Regions from separate parts of the Homo sapiens genome. Here region 1 is linked to region 2. Evidence: promoter capture Hi-C in human tissues and cell types (Jung and others, 2019). All regions are on one chromosome and are shown on one strand. Each heading gives the region's core, a stretch centred on a gene start or on the middle of the fragment in contact. The rest is flanking DNA. Distances are from core to core; before and after follow the strand shown.

Region 1 (7,286 bases), core at 1,024-3,523, 420 kb before region 2:
TTCTGATTTAAAAACATATTACAAACCTACAGTAATGAAACCAGTATGGTACTGATATAAAATAGATATATGGACTAATGGAACAGAATAAAGTCTAGAAATAAACCTATGCATGTGTGATCAACTGATTGCTCACAAGGGTGGCAAGAATACACAATGGGGAAAAGATAGCCTCTTCTATAAGAAGCTTTCAGAAAGCTGTGTATACACATCAAAGAACAGAAGTGAATCCTTATTTCACACCACACACAGGAACCAAGTTAACATGTATTAAAGATTTAAACATAAAATTTGAAATAGTAAAAATCCTAGAAGAGAACATGTGGGAGTGTAGCTTTATGAGATGGTCTTGGAAATTACTTCTTGGATAGACATCAAAAGCACAGACAACAAAATAAAAAATAGACAAATGAGACTATATCAAAATAAATACCTTCTGCACAGCAAAGAAAACAATCAACAGAGTGAAAATGCAACTTCCAGAATGGGAGATAATATTTGGAAACCATATATCTAGTAAGGGATTAATATCCAAAAGATATCATGAACTCCCACAACTCGAAAGCAAAAGAAAATGAAATCACCCTATTAAAAATGGGAAAGACACTTAAATATATACTTCTGCAATGAAAACATACAAATGGTCAAGAAAATGAAGAGATGTTCACAGCACTAACAACAAAGTCCCCACAAAAACCCCATCCAAGTATCAGCAGCCTCAAAGATCTAAACTAGACAACTCATAAAGATGAGAAAGAATCAACAAAAAAATGCTGAAAACCCCAAGGGCCAGAGTGCCTCTTCTCAAAACGAATGCAATGCCCCTCCAGCAAGGGTGCAGATCTGGATGAGGATGAAATGGACGAATTGACAGAAGTAAGCTTCCAAAGATGGTTAATAACAAACTGTCTGAGCTAAAGGAGCATGTTCTGATCCAATGCAAATAAGCTAAGAACCTTGATAAAATGTTAGAGGAGCGCATAACTAGAATAGCCAGTTTAGAGAGAAACATAAATGACCTGAAGGAGCTGGAAAACACAGCATGAGAACTTTGTGAAGCATACACAAGTAGCAATAGTGGAATCAACCAAGAGGAAGAAAGGATATCAGAGTTTAAAGACCACCTAGCTGAAATAAGGCATGCAGACAAGATTAGAGAAAAAAATAATGAAAAGCAACAAACAAAGCCTCTGAGAAATATGGGACTGCATAAAAAGATCAAACCTACGATTGATGAGAGTACCCGAAGGAGAAGAGGAGAATGGAGAAAAGCTGGAAAACACACTTCAGGATATTATCCACAAGTTCCCCAACCTAGCAAGGCAGGCCAACATTAAAATTCAGGAAATACAGAGAACATCACTAAGATTTTCCATGAGAAGATCAACCCCAAGATACATAATCATCAGATTCTCCAAGGTTGAAATGAAGGAAAATATGTTAAGGGCAGCCAGAGAGAAAGGCCAGGTCACCTACAAAGGGAAGCCCATCAGAATAATAACGGACCTCTCAGCAGAAACCCTACAAGTCAGACGAGAGTGGGTGCCAATATTTAACATTCTTATAGAAAAGAATTTTTCATATCCAGCAAAACTAAGCTTCATAAGGGAAGGAAAAATAAAATCCTTCCCAGACAAGCAAAGGCTGAGGGATTTTATCTCCACCTGGCCTGCCTTAAAAGAGCTCTTGAAGGAAGCACTAAATATGGAAAAAAAAAACCAGTACCAGCCACTGTAAAAACACACCACAATATAAAGACCAATGACACTATGTAGAAACTGCACATCACGCCATTCAGAGTGGTGATTATTAAAAAGTCAAGAAATAATAGATGCTTGCGAGGCTGTGAAGAAATAGGAACCCTGTTACACTGTTGGTGGGAATGTAAATTACTTCAACCATTGTGGAAGACAGTGTGGCGATTCCTCAGGGACCTAGAACCAGAAATACCGTTTGACCCAGAAATCCCATTATTGGGTATATGCCCAAAGGAATATAAATCATTCTACTATAAAGACATATGCACTCGTATGTTTATTGCAGCACTATTTACAATAGCAAAGACATGGAACCAACCCAAATGCCTATAAATGATAGACTGGATAAAGAAAATGTGGCACATATACACCACGGAATACTATGCAGCCATAAAAAGGAATGAGATTATGTCCTTTGTAGCGACATGGATGAAGCTGAAAGCTCTTATCTTCAGCAAAGTAACCTAGGAAGAGAAAACCAAACACCACAAGTTCTCGCTCATAAATGGGAGTTGAACAATGAGAACACATGGACACAGGTAGGGGAACAACACACACCATCACCTGTTGTGGGGTGGGGGACAAGGGGAGAGAGCCTAGAGGAAGGGTTAATAGGTGCAGCAAACCACCATGACACACGTATTCCTATGTAACAAATCTGCACATTCTGCACACATATTCCGGAACTTAAAGTAAAATTTTAAACAATTTAAAACAAAAATAAAATGTTTAACATTACTAATCACCAGGGAAATGCAAATTGAAACCACAATGAGATATTACCTTTCACCTATTAGGATGGACACCATCAAAACACACATACCCACATAAATACAGACACAAATAACAAGTGTTGATGATGATGTGGAGAAAAGGAAATTCTTGTACACTGTTAGTGAGAATCTGAAATGATGCAGCCACCATAGAAAAGAGTATGGAGGTTCCTTAAAAATTTAAACATAGAATTACCATATGATCCAACAATTCCACTTCTTGGTATATATCTGAAATAATTGAACTTAGGAACCTGAAGACATAGCAGCACTCTCATGTCCATGGCAGCAGGTATTCATAATAGCCAAGATGTCAAACAACCCAAATGTCCAAAGACATATGAGTAGTTTTTTTAAAAGTGGTAAGTACATTCAATGGAATATTATTCAGCCCTAAAAAAGAGAAGAAAATCCTACCATTGGTGACAACACGAATGAACCTGGAAGACACAATGCTAAGTGCAATGTCAGCCACAGAAGAACACATACTGCTTGTTTCCTCTTATATGTGACATTGAAAATATTGCTATATAGAAGTAGACAACAGAATGGTGATTACCAGGGCATGAGAGAGGTGGCGATGAGGAATGGTTGTTCAAGAGGAATAAAGTTACCATTCTACAAGATGAATGAGTCTCAAAGATCTGCTGTTACAACATAGCGCCCACAGTTAACAGTAAGGTATAGCTCACTTAAAATTTTGTTAAGACTGTAGATCTCATGTTAAGTGTTTTTACTGCAAAAAAGAGAATGCAAGGAAACTTTTGAAGGTGATAGATATGTGTATTACTTTGTGGTGATAGTTACTTGTGTTACAGGTATGTCCATTGTATACCTTAATGAGGTACAATTTTTGGTATATTGATTATACCACCTTTTTTAGGCTGAAGAAAATAATTTTTAAAATAAGATGAGTTAGTGAAGAAAAATCATAGTAGCAATAATAAAATATATATTAGAGGTGATAAAAATTAAAATTGACAAAGAATAAAAATAAAATCCTAATTTAGAGAACCAGCTAGATAAATTTCCTAATAACGCAGAGGAAAATTGGTGTAAAGAAAGGAAAACATTACATAAGAATATATAATTTTGAAAGACATGCAATAAGAATACAACCAGACAATAGTAGAGGTTACTGTGAAAGAAACCACAATGTCTAAAACAGAAGGAATAATGAAAGATTTATGAAAGAAAAAGTTCCTACCCTAAATAAATGACCAACCTATAGATCAAAAACGCTCAATAATCTTTGAGCATAAAAATTATAGAGACTTATATCTTAGCATACCCAAAAGAAAAAATGAAGTTAGAATGATAAAGAAAATATACTAAAGTCACCCAAACATTTTTAAATTTAATAAAAATCAGGTAACACTTCTTTCAAATGGTAAAACAAACAAAAAAACCCCACAACTTGGATATCCTACCAAGTGGTTGTTATGTGTACAGCCCACAAGAAAAAGAAGATATTTACAAATACGCAAGAGCTCAAAAGAGATTACGCTAACGTATGTTGCTTACAAAAATTAATAGAAAACCATTTTAACAGCTAAAAATTGATCAAACATAATTTTTAAAAGATAGTTCATCATGTAATAAGACTTACAGTAAATGTTAAATTAGTTCAATGACATGTGTAAATATGTAGGAAATCATGAAACTTTATCTAAAAATAACATATATCATATAAATAATAATAATATAGGTGAAAGTCTCTAGATTAATGATCACAATTTCAAGTGATCACAGGGCCTGAGAAATAAGGCAGATATATAAAGAGGGCCAGGCTTAATGAATAGGGAGTGGTGGGGAGGACTCTGTACTAGAGAGCAAATTCAGTTACGCACAGCGTAACAACCTTTAGGTCAATGATGGACCACGTGTGACAGTGGACCCGTAAGATATGGACATGTAAGATTCCATATTTTTACTGTATCTTTGCTTTTTTTTTTTTTTTTGAGACGGAATCTCACTCTGTCGCCAGCCTGGAGTGCTGTGGCGCAATCTGGGCTCACTGCAATCTCCGCCTCCCAGGTTCACGCCATTCTCCTACCTCAGCCTCCTGAGTAGCTGGGACTACAGGTGCCCGCCACCACGCCTGGCTAATTTTTTGTATTTTTAGTAGAGACGGGGTTTCACCGTGTTAGCCAGGATGCTCTGGATCTCCCGACCTCGTGATCCGCCCGCCTCGGCCTCCCAAAATGCTAGGATTACAGGTGTGAGCCACCAGGCCCGGCCTGCTGTGTTTAAATATACAAATACTTACTGTCGTGTTACAATTGCCTATGGTATTCAGTATAGTAACAGACTGTACAGGTTTTTAGACTAGGAGGAATAGGCTATACCATACAACCTGAGTGTGTGTAGGCTATTCCATGTTGGTTTGCATAAGTACACTCTGTGATGTTTGCACAACAGTGGAATTGCCTAACCACACTTTCCGCAGGATGTATACCCACAGTTTAGTGACGCATGACTGAATATACTATTCAAGGAGGGCGGAAGCTACTGGACTCCAACACTTCATTACCTTGCAATGTGGGCCAGATCAACAAATTTCAAGAAAAGCCAGAAATCTACATATTCGTTTACAACATTGCAATTTTTAAATATACAGAGATAATTCAACTAGTAACAAAAGCACTGGAGGGTGCCAAGCAAAACATTTGTTTGAGATTTGAGCCATTACTAATCAGGTTTTAACCTCGCCACTCAAAGAAAAAAAAATTAAAATGCGTTAGCATTACAAAAAACTAAAAAATTGTAAGTAGGAGGTTTTGGGGATAGAAATGCTTTCTTTCTAGGTATAAATGGGTTCTAAAAGATTGGATTGGAAAATTAGAAATACATAGGTTATAAGAGTTTGGGGAAAATATAATAGCAAAATTTTGAACTTTTAAATTATTGGATAAGATGAAGTAAAGCATTGCTAGATAGCAATGTCCTGCTTTGCAGATGTCTGCTGGTTGCATAATTCAAAAGGACACTAAAGTGTTAAAAATAAAATGATGGACCAGGCGCGGTAGCTCACGCCTGTAACCTCAGCACTTTGGGAGGCCGAGGCGGGTGGATCACTGGGTCAGGAGTTGCAGACCAGCCTGGCCAAAAAAGTGAAACCCCGTCTCTAGTAAAAATACAAAAATTAGCCAGGCAAGGTGGCGAGTGTCTGTAGTCCCACCTACTCGGGAGGCTGAGGCGGGAGAGTCACTTGAACCTTCGAGGCGGAGGTTGTGGTGAGCCAACATGGCACCACTGCACTCCAGCCTGGGCAGCAGAGTGAGACTCTGTCTCAAATAATTAACTAATTAATTAATTAAATGGTGGTAAATTATTTATTACATAAATACTACTGAAAAGAAAGCAGGAGAGGACAAAATTATTATAAAACTAAGAGCTACAGTATAAAATGCAGTAAATTGATTAAAGCAGGTTAATTTCTTTTAAAACATGATTTAGTGAGCTTTAAACGCAGAATATTATAATGTTGAAAAATGCAAAGTAATATTAACAATAAAATAATACATTTATAAAGATGCACATTTTGTAAGTAATTTCAACTTTTCAAAATGTCTTTATAAATACAAGTACCTGAATAAATATTGGTCCATAAAGAACATCTCAAAAAATTACATAAAGCATAAATTATATAGCCCATATTTCTAACCATTAACTGCTTTTGTTTCTCTTCAATTCAGTCCTGTGGAAGAATTGAATCAGAAGCAAACAAAACTCCAAATGTACATTATTTAGAAAGTAACAATGAAAACATGCTTATTTCAACGTATAGGAGATGATCAAAGTTGTAGTCAGCGGCAAATGAATCCCCTGAAATGCTTTCTTCATCTTAAAAAAAAAAAAGATAAAAATAAATGAAATAAATATTAAGAAAAAGGCTAAAGTAGACAAAAGAAAATAAGGTGAAGAAAGATAAAATGAATTTGAGGATATTAGAATATATTACAAGCCTTGGGGCCAAACAACTCAAAAAAACTATGGGAAGCATACGCAAAATTTTAAATGAGATCATTAACGATAGATTAATGTTAAAAAGTTAGGTGCAATTCTATGCTAATTTCTTTAAAATTCTTAATAAAATGTATGTTTTCCTAAGAAAAGATAAATTATCAGATGTTTGAGTTGTCTGGGGGTTGAATCTCAGGGTAAACAATGTGAAATAAAATGATTTTGCCAGCAGAGCACAAGAGTGCATGTCCAGAATTTCACAGTCCTGCCCTGTCATTTTCTGCTGGGTGGCCTTGAGCAAATGAATTCAGTTCATTGACCATCCCTTCCCCACCATAAGAACTTTGCCAGTGGTGATTACTGGAGTCTCTTTTAATCAAAATTGCTTGGTTCTCCTACAGACATGTACAGGCATGCACGTGAGTAAAAGAGAGAAAAAAACCCATATATATATATGTATAACAGTAAGCAAAACTTTAAATAATACTCATTATATTTTAGATCTATTCAGTTTGCTTGTTCCCTCATTTTTACCCTCAATTAATATCATCCCTATTAGTTCAAATACCATAGCTTAAAGAAAAAATAAACACTGAAGAAGGTAGTTCAATATTGTATTCATTCACTGACTTGTCCTGGAATTCTTTCTTTTCTTCCTGTTTCTTAGACATACGTTACTTTTTCAAGTAATGAGAAATCATCTGTAGTCTTTTTTTCTTCAAACTCCAGGGGTTGGGGGTTCCAGCGTCTAAGTATCCCTGAAACTCACACCTTGATTTTGTGGCTATTG
Region 2 (7,088 bases), core at 4,394-6,893:
TTGGATGTAAAGAATTTTGGCCAAAATTCATGATTCTGTATTATGAATATTGACACTGCCTTAATAATAGAACTCTGAATAACAATAGATTTATTTGTTTTTAAGACATATTCTTGAAATACACTAATAATAACATGTCATTTTCATACAGGAAGGTGTTTTTACTTTTTGCTAAGGACTTAGGATATATGTCTAATTTATCTAAAAAGCTGTGTCATAGCAGTGAATACTTTGACAATGCATTACACTCTTGATATCTGTTTTAAGTCCACACACATCAAGGCACACATGGTTCTTCCCCATGGGGGTAAGCACTGTTGGCAGATTGGTAGATACTAACGTGGGCTACTTAATTGTTCTGGACTGTTTCCTCAATTAAATGAAAGACAGTGTGACACTCAAATTTGTAAATAGAAATATATTATCCACATTTCTTCTCTCTTCTCATATCATCACAATTAGTGTGGTATTTTGGTTGAATAGTATTGTCATTCTGTGTATCATAAGACGTTATTGAATATACAATTTAGAGTCACACAAAAATATTTTAAGGGCCAGCTTCCAGAATCAGACATATTTAGATACATATCTCTCTCAATCACTTACTAGTAAACTGACTTCGGAAAAATTATATGATGCCTGGGGATCTTTATCTGTAAATTGCAACAAGAAAAGTATTAACCTCATAAAGGTATTGAGGAGATAATAAATTCAAAGTACTTTGCTGTCAATCAATGACGATGGTCATTACTATTTTTGCTATTATTAATATGATGAACAGAAAAAATATTAAGTAAAAAATGACTCACATATTAGTTCATCTTTAAGGCCAAAATATTAAGTAAAAAATGACTCACATATTAGTTCATCTTTAAGGCCAATCTGGAATTGGAGGTAAGAACAACCCCTTTGATTTCAATTTTTTAATTTGCATTCAGTATTCTGTACAAAGACATCTACGACTAAAAACTAAGCTTCTTTCACTTGCCTATGTGCAATTGGAGTCAGTCTTAATGTTGTAAAGGACATGAAAGATGAAATAATCCTATCTCTTCCTCTTCCAAGTCTAATATTCCGGATAAGTTAAATTCCCTTTCTGAGCCTCTCCTCTGGTTTCTCATCAAAAATATGGATATGAAAATAACTTGCAAGTAAATTTTGAAGTTTTAAAACCATAATGTAGAAAATTTTTTTGCAATTAATAGGTAATCAATGAAAGATGGCTATTATTGTTTAAAAGTTAGTTTAAAAATAAGAGATTGCAGAACATTTTAAGGATAATGTGCTATTTGAAGAAAACATATGGAAGTGATTTTATCAAATATCAAATAATGTTTTTATTATTCTAATAAGACTGGCTACAAATCAACATTTCCTAATGTAAGTTTTACTGTCTTTCAAGTTTTATGAACAGTGTTTGCAAGATGCTGAATTACTGTCCCACTATTCTCATCATCTTCTGCTGTAATTTTCTCTTTATTTATATTTATTCTCCCATTATCTATTTTGATAAATGTTTAAAGATGATGATTTGGAGGAGAACCATATCTAAAACAGCTGGACATACTTTTATTGAAAATATCTGATCATTATAGTGGTAAATGGACTGAAAGTTTGATGAAAAATTTCATGAATGACTATTACAGTGCAGGCTGTCATTAAAGAGGAAGTATGACTCATGTAGAGAGAATACAGAAAAAAATAATTTATATCTTTAAACCATGTTGTAAGGCTATTTAGGCAATGGCAACAGTGATGAGTACTTATGTCACACACAAAAAATGATTTGGTGAGAATACTCTCTCTGTATCCAAAGTTTGATTTCTTAGTATAACAGAAGATATTTAGGGCTGTATTTAGGTTTTATTATCAAGTCAAATAAAATAAATATATTATAGGCCAGGTGAAGATGGATGCATAGAAAATAGAGTCCTTAGCTACCCAGGAGTCTGAGGTAGGAAGTTTGCTTGAGCATGAGAGGAGGAGGTTGCAGTGAATCAAGATCATGCCACTGTACTCCAACCGGGGCGACAGAGCCAGACCCTGTTTCAAAAAGAAAAAAAAAAAGAAAAAAGAAAGAAAAGAAGGTTAGAAGGTTTTTAGTGTTTAGATGTAGGCCTACAAAATGTTCTCAGTGTAGACGTACAAGAAAGAAATGGATAACAGGGTCCCAGTAAGCAAAAAATGCATGTACCCACAAAAATTAAAAATAATTAAAAAAAAAACAGCCACAACAAAATTCTATCATTCCATTAAGCAAATAAAAACAAGCAAAAATAGGGGAGGTTAATTCTTTGTGACTTTTCTTCTCTGCAGCAGATTTTTAACGTCAATTAACCTGTTTATTTCTTGGTACAATCCTGCAAATTATGCATTGTCATTTTCATTTTACTAATAAAGAAACATGAAATTTGAAGAAATTAATAAATGAGGCCAAGATTTACACATTCATTCAACACTATTCTAGGTGTGTGGGCAACATCAATGGACAAAAATAGATACAAATCTCTGCCTTCATGAAGCCTACATTTTAGCAAGGAAACAGAGGCCACAAACTGTAAGTATATTGTATGATGAGTTGGGAGGTAATAAGTACTATGAAAACAAAAAGAAAAGCAGGCAAAGGGGGATTGGAAATCTTTGGATGGGAGATGGTTTGCACTTTTAAATAACATTGGATAAATCTCTGTGAGACGGTGACATCTGGGTTGATGTTGAAGATATGAGGGAGTCAGTCATGTGGTGGTCTGGGGGGAAAGCATTTTAGACAGAGGAGCCAATAACCTAAGATGGGACCATACCTGGCTTTGGCATGTTGGAGAAGCAGCAAGATCAGCAGGGCTGAAAGAGAGCGAGCCATTAGGAGAGAAGAAGTCAGAGTTAGGGGGAGGAGATGCATAACAATTGAAGGTTTGTAGACCATTGTAAACACTGGTTTATAAAATGGGGACTAACTGCTGGGTGTTGAGTTGAGGAATGACACAATATGACCTATGACATGTTTTAAAGGGATCACTCTGGCTACTGTTTTGAGATTACTCAAGGGTAGGAGAGGACAATGATAGAGGCAGGGTGAGTAGCTAAAGTGCTATTATAGTAATCTAACGTAGAGATGAAAGTCACTGAGTCTAGGTTGGCTGCAGTAAAAATCATAAGAAGTAGCTGAATTCCTGTTGTCATTTGAGAGTAAACAGGATTTCCTCAGAGATTTGGTTGTGAGGTGTGAGAAAAAGAGCGGAATCAAGAACAACTTCATGATTTTTAGCCTGACCAACCCTAAGGATGAGGTTGCCGTGAACTGAGAAGGAGAAGGCTGAATGTGGGGCAGATTTTAGGGAGAACCATAGCTCAGTTTGGGACACACTGAGTTTGACATGTTTATTAAATACGCAAGTTGAAATGTTGAAAAGGCAGTTAGATAGATGAGTCTGGAGTTCTGGAGAGATGTCTAGTCAGGAGAAGTACATATGGGAGCTATCAACATGGTGTTTAAAACCTTGTGACCAGATGAAATTACTAAAGGAGTGAATATTGATAGAAATAAATAGAGAAAAGTAGATCAACACTTGACAGAATTGGGGAAAATAGGTTATTTCATGACATTATTTAGAAGCATCCCTTTTCACACTATGATATAAAAGTTATAGAAATATAGGTAAGCAGATCACTTTCATAGAAAAAAATTTTCAGAATTCTGAACTTGACCATTTTACAGGCTAGAAGAAGTGCTTTTAGGGCATCAACTATATTTCTTAACCTTTGGGCCAAAACCCTACAAACCCATCCAACCTGCTGGACTTGCTTTTCTTCTGAATAACCTAATTCTCCAATATAACATCCATGGATGGCACAGAAACAATACTAGGGAAGGTGAGCAAGTCTGTTGTAGGTATTTTCAGCATAGTTCTTCCAAATGTGGACATTAGAGTTTGTAAATAAAAGATGTTCATTTTATTACAGGAATCGGAATTCCTATTATTCTAAACTCTTAATAATTTCTTGATTAATTGAAAACTAAGTGTAAGGTTTTCGCCAACTTCTAAACTCCCCTGGCTGCATGAAAACTAATTCCTTTATCATTCTTCATATGACCTATTCACCAAAAGTTATATCTTATGAAACGTATATTATCAATATAGTTCTCTCTAATAAAGCATTAAAATCCAAAGTTATATCCTGATCCACTTTGGCGGGGGGGTCTTCAAACAGTACAGCTCTTTGAATAATGATCATTTTGTAATGTAAATAAGGTAATGATCACTTATTAATGATCACTACTCTTAGGCAGCAGAATATCTCATGAAGCTTATGGAACACGGTTATATGCAGGAAATATTCCTTCCCTCCATATGCTGCGGGTGGAAAAATTTATTAGTGGATACATCTGTGGGTCCACAATACAATGCTAAGTGATGCTCACTTGAGACAATGCTTTTTTAATAAAAAAAATCCATCAGGACCTGGTGCAGTGGGGTGGGGTGGCTCAAGCCTGTAAGCCCCCCAGCTTGGGAGGCTAAGGCAGGCGGATGGCTTCAGGCCAGAGTTGGAGACCATCCTGGACAACAAAGCCAGAGATGCTGTCTCTTAAAAAATAATAATAATAATTAGTGGAGCGCAATGGCCTGTCTGTTGTTCCAGCTACTCTACTAGGGAGACCGAGACAAGAGGATCTCTTGATTGCCCAGAAGTTCAAGACTGCGGTGAGCGATGACTGTGCCTCTGCACTCCAGCCTGGGCAACAAAGTGAGCTCCTGTTGCTTAAAAAATAACAATTAAAAAAAATCAATCAGGCATACATTCAAGAGGTAATAGGATAGCCTTATCTGTTATCTAAGGGCTGCATATCCAAGTAAGGGCTACTTCTTCACAAGGATGAGGACAACAGTATTTTGCTCTTATAAGGCAGAGACCCTGTCTGGTTCAGATATGCAAAAATCACTAATTTTGAATCTCTGGTAAATTTCTTTCAAGATCTGTAACTCTAAGTAAATCTCTTAATATAACTGAGTTTCAGATTCTTCATCTACAGAAGGGGATGACAAAACTTGCCCAGGAATGTGGTGAGGGCCACATGAGATAAGGCGAGTGAAAGGTGTTTTGCAACTGTCAAGTTCTGTACACATGTTAATTATGTAACAGATGTTAAACATAGTATTACCTGTATGACTATATTGTCAGTAATTTTGACCAATTTAAGCTTGCTCAGAAAGTTCAGGCTTTTAGAAATTGGAAGACCCGGAGATTAAGCTGGATGTCTGGGTTCCAGGCAAATGGTGAAATGACAGAAAATGTGTTTTGTTCGCTTTGACCCAAGAAGGTCATTTGTTGCTCTGTTGTTTGTTGCTAGTGGTCAAAAGCTGACCCCAAGCAATCCCAGCTCCTTGAAAGGTTTTTTCTTTTTGTACCGACACTATCATTCCCGCCCTTCGTCCCCAACTCCTTTAGTCCCCTAAGGAGTGAGGGGGGTACACATTTCTGCTCGGTAACCCCTCCAATGCCTGAAGGGGACGATGCCGTGACGTTGCTCTGTCGGGACACCTCTTCCCTCCCCCGCCCGCGGTCGCCAGGTTCCCCCGCGGCCCGCGCTGTCCCCGCTGCGGCCCCGACCGCGGCGCGCCACGGCGCAGGCTCCGCGGCCCGAGCAGGCGCGTCAGCCGAGCTCGGCGGTGGCGCGGGCGGCTGGGACGCAGCTGCCCCCGCTCGGCGCCCGCTGCACCCTTAGCAGCCACTGCCACCTGGGCCCGGAGCCTCCACGATCTCGCCCGGCGATTGTGGGCAGGGGCGCCTCCGGGTAAGTGCCAGGAGCTCCACTTAGGAGGAGGGGACGCGGGTTGGGGCGGCGACGGTGGTCTGAGGACGGGAATAGACGCCTTTGCGGAAACAGCGGGTCAAGCCCGGGGCGGCGGAGCGCGAGGAGCACTGCGGCGTGCCCGGGAGGACGCGCGCTGCCCTGCGCGGGAGAGGGGCGCGGGGCGCCTGGCAGCGGCAGCCGGGTCCCCGCTGCGGTGGCGCCCGCGGAGACGCTCCGGGTGGAGAGATGCAGAGGGCCGGGGTAATTAGGAAACGCAAGGTTGGCCAGGAGGGCTCCTTGCGTTGTTTTGTTTATGAGGATCCTCCAGTCAATGCAGCTGTCCCCCTTGAAAGATTGGGGGTGAGGACAGAGCAGAGTGGTGAATTTCTCTGTTTTTCGAAGCGTTAGGGGGGCTCGGCCCTCCTTTTTGCGGGGGCAAGGATGTGAAAGTGGGAGAAGTACCTGCTGCTGTGGGCAAGGTGTCTGGAAGCAGGTGCCGCTGTCGGATGGGGGAAGGGAGCGTCCAATGTTGTGAAGTTGCCAGAGGAGAACCTTGTGTTGTTGCTGTTGGTCTGATGAGCCCCCTCTGTTGTCTTCAATTTAAAGTACCCAGGGAGAAGCCCCTCTGGCTTGCCTGGAGTGTGTGTAAAAGATAAATATGGGGGGAAGAATCCTGGGGGGGGGGGGGGAAGATGAAAAACATGACATAAGGAGAAGCAAATTTCTGAGGGTGAGATGGGAATTAAGTTAGCGTTGAAGAATATGACAGGTCTTTTACTCTGCGGAAAACAATGAAAGAGAAACAATTTATGGTTTGGAAATGAAGGTTGCAGAAGAGTTTGAACTTCTCTAGTGTAGGTAGAGGCTTAATTATTTTTTATTTATCAGAATCTCTGGCAAGAATATGGTTCTGATTTGAGCATGAAAATGTTATTAAAATATGGCTAGGACGATAATTTGAAAAAAATGTAACAACACTTGTTTTATTTCTTGTTGTAGAATTTCTGAAGTAATCTTTTTGATGACAAATGTTAGTAGCAAATAAGTAAGAAAGCTTTAAAGCTAACTTAAGAGGCACCTTTTTGGGGCAAAAAGGTAGCTTGCCAATGTAATGTGTTTAAATAAAAAAAGCAATGAATTTTGAATGTGGAACTCTTTGATATTAACTTTTTCTTTTATCTGTCTTTTTTAATACTTAGAATTTCTTTTTCTTTAAAATACATTATTTTTGAAAAAATATACATAAGAACTTCAAACAATATAAAAATTTAAAAAGAAAAAGATACTTCCAAAGTAC

The links. The method cuts DNA at HindIII sites, captures the fragments that hold promoters and counts their contacts. A contact is called where the count stands out against the background at its distance.
Region 1: a contact is called between a fragment that was not itself captured here and the fragment with the promoter of GLRB in region 2, in 2 of the 25 tissues and cell types used here (dorsolateral prefrontal cortex and mesenchymal stem cells).

The regions. Positions count from the first base shown.
Region 1 is chr4:156,649,612-156,656,897 of GRCh38, forward strand. No RefSeq gene overlaps it. Among named protein-coding and RNA genes, the nearest start is that of LINC02272, 11 kb to the left of the region's middle. The HindIII fragment of the contact is 5,478 bases long and covers 1-5,012 here.
Region 2 is chr4:157,070,507-157,077,594 of GRCh38, forward strand. GLRB (glycine receptor beta) reads left to right here and starts at 5,644. Exons shown (of 10, transcript NM_000824.5): 1 at 5,644-5,791. RefSeq lists a silencer at 2,751-3,045. The HindIII fragment of the contact is 3,601 bases long and covers 4,752-7,088 here.